Regions from separate parts of the Homo sapiens genome. Here region 2 is linked to region 1. The links are contacts of gene promoters, found by promoter capture Hi-C in human tissues and cell types (Jung and others, 2019). All regions are on one chromosome and are shown on one strand. The core of a region is centred on a gene start or on the middle of the fragment in contact, and the rest is flanking DNA. Distances in the headings are between cores, read along the strand shown. Region 1 holds the start of NOTCH3 (notch receptor 3). Region 2 overlaps ZNF333 (zinc finger protein 333).

Evidence for each region. The method cuts DNA at HindIII sites, captures the fragments that hold promoters and counts their contacts. A contact is called where the count stands out against the background at its distance.
Region 2: a contact is called between a fragment that was not itself captured here and the fragment with the promoter of NOTCH3 in region 1, in 2 of the 25 tissues and cell types used here (mesendoderm cells and thymus).

The regions. Positions count from the first base shown.
Region 1 is chr19:15,199,620-15,202,553 of GRCh38, reverse strand. NOTCH3 (notch receptor 3) reads left to right here and starts at 1,559. Exons shown (of 33, transcript NM_000435.3): 1 at 1,559-1,766. The coding sequence starts at 1,649. RefSeq lists enhancers at 675-1,174, 1,175-1,676 and a silencer at 2,263-2,489. The HindIII fragment of the contact is 7,500 bases long and covers 1-2,934 here.
Region 2 is chr19:14,694,001-14,696,934 of GRCh38, reverse strand. ZNF333 (zinc finger protein 333) reads right to left here. Exons shown (of 12, transcript NM_032433.4): 3 at 1,802-1,925; 4 at 1,274-1,369. Among named protein-coding and RNA genes, the nearest start is that of ZNF333, 5.4 kb to the right of the region's middle. The HindIII fragment of the contact is 5,396 bases long and covers 1-2,934 here.

The DNA of each region.
Region 1 (2,934 bases), core at 310-2,809:
TCAGGAGTTCGAGACCAGCCTGGCCAACATGGCAAAACCCAGTCTCTACTAAAAAAATAGAAGCTGGGCGCGGTGGCTCACGCCTGTAATCCCAACACTTTGGGAGGCTGAGGCAGGCAGATCACGAGGTCAGGAGATCGAGACCATCCTGGCTGACACGGTGAAACCCCGTCTCTACTAAAAATACAAAAAAAAAATTAGCAGAGCATGGTGCCAGTTGCCTGTAGTCCCAGCTACTCGGACGGCTGAGGCAGGAGAATGGTGTGAACCCAGGAGGCGGAACTTGCAGTGAGCGGAGATCATGCCACTGCACTTCAGCCTGGGCAACAGAGCGAGACTCCGTCTCAAAAACAAACAAACAAGTAAACAAAAACCCAGAAAAAATTAGCCACGTATGGTGGCGCACACCTCTAATCCCAGCTACTTGGCAGATTGTGGGGGTGGGGGCTGAGGAAGGAGAATCGCTTGAACCTGGGAGGTAGAGCTTGCAGTGAGCCAAGATAGGGACACTGCACTCCAGCCTGGGTGACAGAGCGACACGCTGTCTCAAAAAAAAAAAAAAAAAGAAAAGAGAATTAATCAAATTGAGCCAGATAGGCTGAGGCCCAAAGCTGTGTGGGGTATGGGGGTGGGACTAGGGGGCTGGGGTGACCCTTTGAGAGTCACAGAGGAAGTGGGTTGCTTTCTGGGAGGGCTGAGAGCAAGAAGAGTTTGTGTGTGCATGTGTGAACACACACACATGCATGTGACTCCTAGTACGTGTCTGAGGTCTGAGGCTGCAAATGTAGTCCTAGGCTCCTGGCCTGGCTGAGTGAGTTTTAGCGGTTTTTTGTTTGTTTGTTTTGTTTGAGACAGGGTCTTACTCTGTTGCCCAGGCTGGAGCGCAGTGGTACGATTTCGGCTAAGTGCAACCTCAGCCTCCTGGGTTGAAGCGATTTTCCTGCTTCAGCCTCTCGAATAGCTGGGACTACAGGCGTGCGCCACCACGCTCAGCTAATTTTTGTATTTTCAGTAGAGTCCGGGTTTCACCATGTTGGCCAGGCTGGTCTCCAACTCTTGACCTCAAGTGATCCATCCACCTCTGCCTCTCAAAGTGCTGGGATTACAGGCCGGAGCCACCGCGCCCGGTCCGACTTTTAGGTTTGTGAATGTTTTAGATCAGAGTCCTGGGGAAGCTTGGTGCATGGGCTTGCATTTGTGCGTCCGTGGCTGTGGGTCCATGAGCCTCTCAGGACGTGACTGGCCTCAGTTTCCAGAGTTTCTGGGAGGCTGTGTTTTTTGTCCCGGCTCCAGAGGTGTCCGGCTCTGGGTGTGTACTGGGGGATGGGGATGGGGTGCGTGGGCGTTCACGAGGTTGGGTGTGCCCGCCACTCCGGGTTCTGCCCGCGTCTCACTGCATGCTCGGCCTGGGTTTCCGAGGGTCCGCGCGTCCCAGGCTGTGCGGGTGGAGGGTGGGCAGGGACCCCGGGAGGCCGGGCGGGGGGCGGGGGCGCGCTGGGCCGGCCCCGGGGCGGGGCGAGCCTTCGAGGGCTGGGGGCGGGGCGGCCCGGCCGCCTCACTTCGGCGAAGTTGGCGGCGCGGAGGCTGGCCCGGGACGCGCCCGGAGCCCAGGGAAGGAGGGAGGAGGGGAGGGTCGCGGCCGGCCGCCATGGGGCCGGGGGCCCGTGGCCGCCGCCGCCGCCGTCGCCCGATGTCGCCGCCACCGCCACCGCCACCCGTGCGGGCGCTGCCCCTGCTGCTGCTGCTAGCGGGGCCGGGGGCTGCAGGTGAGGGGCCGGGACCTGGCGGATGGGACGAGGGCGGCAGAGGGGGAGTGCAAGAACCCCCAAGGCCGGGGCTGGCGGGGGTTCATGGGAGGCAGGAACCAGGGTCGGGGAAGGGGCGCAGGAGCCCCGGGCTTCATGCCAGTCCTGGAGGACCCAGAGATTCAGAATGGGGAGGACCCCAGAGGCCCAAGGAACAGGGACCCTTGAGCGATTAGAGCTGAAGATGAAGGGACCCAGGAGTCCGAGACTGGGAGCTCGAGGTGCGGGGATCAGGGACTCGAGGTGGGGGGGTGCGTACAGAGTTCGGGACTCGTCCCCATCCAACTCACGCCTGGAGTCCTGGGTAGGTTATGATTGGGGGCCCAGGTACTTCTAGGCCGGGGACCTCTCGCACAAAAGCCCCCCCACCCCGCCCCCGACACCCCGGGCGGGCTGGGCCAGGCGGGGGGTGGGGAGGGGGCGCGAAGTTCTGGGAGCTCTGAACTCGGAGAAAACTTCCCAGGCCGGCGCGCAGCAAGACCCGGAGCCGGATTCCGAGCCGGAGCCTCGGCGGCGCGCGCGCCCCCTCCCCCGCCCGCAGCCCGCCTCTCTCCTCTGGCCGCGGGGACCCGGAGGCCCTGGGACCCCGCCCCTGCGCGGGGAGGGGAAGGGGCGAGGGCCCACGTGCTCCCCTTCGGCTCCAGCGCCCCCTCCCCGCGGCCAGAGCCCCTCCCCAGCCGGCCAGGGGCCCCCGCCCCTCCTCCTCTCCTCCCTCCCCTCCCCCGCTCGGGACAATGGCCGCGCCGTCTAGACACCCCCTCCCTCCGGCCGGCCTCGCGCTTTCTTTGCCAGACAAAGCGGGACCCGCGGCTGGGCCGGGGAGGGGGCTGCGGGGGCACCCCCCTCACCGCTACGGGAGGCCTGGTGGGCGGGGGAGGGGCGCGGGCCAAGGCCCCTGGCCAGGGGTCCCAGACGCCAGTGTGGGGCTTGGCGCTGGGCGGGGTGGGGGTTTCGGGAGTGAACGGCCTCCCCAGCCCAGCCCCGGGGCCCGGACGGGGCAGGACCAGGCAGGAGCCGCCGCCTCCGCCGGACCAGCGGCGCACACACATGGCCTGTGACACACTCGCTGGCACACATAGCTCTAGGTCACGTAACAGAGATGCAAACCTGCACACACACAGCACACTCG
Region 2 (2,934 bases), core at 291-2,790, 510 kb after region 1:
AAACCCCATCTCTACTAAAAATACAAAAATTAGCCGGGTGTGGTGGTGTGCACCTGTAGTCCCAGCTACTCAGGAGACTCAGGCAGGAGAATCGCTTGAACCCAGGACGCAGAGGTTGCAGTGAGCCGAGATCGTACCACTGCACTCCAGCCTGGGTGACAGGGCGAGACTCTGTCCCAAAAAAAAAAAAAAAAAAAAAAAAAGGTGATTAGGTCACGAGGAATCTGCCCTGTGATTACTTCAGAAGGGGGTTAGTTATCTCAAGAGTGGCCTTGCTGTAAAAACCAGTCTGGGCCTCTCTTGTTCTCTTGCAACATGATCTCGTCCACCATGTTATGATGCTGCAAGAAGGCCCTTACCAGATGCAGCCCCTCAGCCTTAGACTTCCCAGCCTCCAGAACCAGGAGTCAAATAAACTTCTATTGTTTATAAACTACCCAGTCTAACTTACTTGCAACACAAAACTATTATACTAAGCCGGATACCAAAGGCTACTTATGATACGATTTCCATATACAAATGTCTATATAGGACAATCCATAGAGACAGAAAGCAGATTAGTGGCTGCCAGGGGCTGAGGGAGGGGTAATGGGGAGTAACTGCCCATGGGGACAGGGTTTCTACTTGGCGTGATGAAAATGTTCTGGAATTGGGTAGTGGTGATGTTTACACAAGGTTGTGAACCACTGAACTGCACACTTTAAAGGGGTGAATTTCATGGTGTGTGACTTATAGCTCTAATTTTTGCTTTGTTTTGTTTTTTGGAGACAGAGTCTCGCTCTATCCCCCAGGCTGGAGTGCAGTGATGCAATCTTGGCTCACTGCAACTTCTACCTCCCAGGTTCAAGCAATTCTCATGCCTCAGCCTCCCAAGTAGCTGGGATTACAGGTGTGCACCATCACATCCGGCTAATTTTTGGTAGAGATGGGGTTTTGCCATGTTGGCCAGGCTGGTCTCGAACTCCTGACCTCAGGTGATCCACCAGCCTCGGCCTCCCAAAGTGCTGGGATTACATGCAAGAGCCACCACACCTGGCCCTCTAATTTTTTAAGAGAAATTAGAACAAATCTTTTTCTGAAACCAAAGGAAAGTAGGAGAGGAGGGCTAGAAAGTGAAAATAGAAGAGAAGCTAAAGGAACTTGAGAAACCTCACTCCGAATGGCCTTCGATGTCCCCTCAGAACAAAGGGCCTTTGAAAATGCTCTTGACACTTCCCAAGGCACACCACCCAACCAGGGGGGTCGGGGGATCCACAGCCTGCCTGGTACTCACCAACACCTGTGGCACGGAGAATCCCTCGTTCTGTTGCCTTTGGCTCTGCTCTTTGCCCCAGCTGGGAGACACAACTGGGTTTGCATGGTGGAGTTCCTGCACATGAAGAAAGACACAGGCACTGAGAGAGAGAGGGCTTGCAGGGGAAAACAAACTCTTGTTTCTCAACTCAAACTCTCCTTCAGCTTCAATATGGGCTTCAGATTCTCTGGGCTGAGCAAGTGTGATGGGTAGCAAAGGGATCTTGCCCAATAGCTAATGAACTCAGGACCCAACCCACAAACACCCTCCCCTCTGCCCCAAGGGGCTGAGGCTGTCTCACCTCAGAAGCCTGGGGCCAAATTCAAGGAGACCCAAACAGGGCCTTACTACAGAGGGAAAGAAGTCAATGCAACAGATGAAGCTTTGTCATCCTGTGGACGCTAAGTGCCACAAAGCCTAAGCCACGTCTGTCTTCTTCACATGGCAGGCGCTTAAGAAGCATTTAGTGCCTGCGTACAGGAAGGAGCCAGGTGACGCCAGCCTTACCCCTGGAGGCCAGGGTCCTGCACTGGTCAAGCATCCTGTATTTGCACAGGCTCCTCCGTGCGCTGTCCAGCAATGCCCACTCCTGGATGAACTCCACGGCCACATCCTCAAAGGTGACGGATTCCTAAAACAGCACACACATTCTGGCTCGGCAAATACCACCCCCACCACTGAGCAGAACGACTGGTTATCACTGGAGAAGAGAAAATGTTCAGACACAGCAGGCATGGAAAATCCAGCCTAAAGCCTATTTTTGTAAATAATGTTTTCTTGGCACACAGCCACGTGCATTTATTTACAATGCATCAATGGCTGTTTTGAGGCCACAACGGCAGAACTGAATAGTTGTGACAGAGATCACATGGGCCACCAAGCTGAAATGTTTACTTTCTTTTAACATTTGGATAAATCCTAAAGTGTAAAGTTATGGCTCTCTGTGTAACTCCACTGACTTGTGATGGCAGAGCCTGTCCCTCCCTGCTTAGAGAGTTTTTCCTAAACTCCTTATTACAAATTGGCACAGCATCACAAATTTGGGATTGAAAGCTTAATTTCTGTGAAGTCCCTGGGATCCCCCAAGACTTACGTCCTTAATTATATACTTGTGAAAGTAGGACTTCCATTGCATCTGAGAGTCTTTTTCTTTTTTTCTTTTTTTTTTTTGAGACAGTCTTGCTCTGTCGTCCAGGCTGGAGTGCAGTGGCGCCATCTCGGCTCACTGCAACCTTCACCTCCTGGGTTCAAGCGATTTTCCTACCTCAGCCTCCCAAGTAGCTGGGATTACAGGCACGTGCCACACACCCAGCTAACTTTTTGTATTTTTAGTAGAGACAGAGTTTCACCATGTTGGCCAGGCTGGTCTTGAACTCCCAGCCTCAAGTGATCTGCCCGCCTCGGCCTCCCAAAGTGCTGGGATTACAGGCATGAGCCACCACGCCCGGCCTCATCTGAGAATCCTTTTAATTGCAGAATTCTTCAGAGCAGTGCTGTCCAACAGACATCACTCTCTGATGATGGGAATGTTCCATGCCTGTGCTTTCCAGAAAGGGGCTACCAGCACATGTGGCTGTTGAGCACTTGGGCAATGTGACTGGGGCGACTGAGAAACTGAGCGCTTAAACTTTTTAATTTTT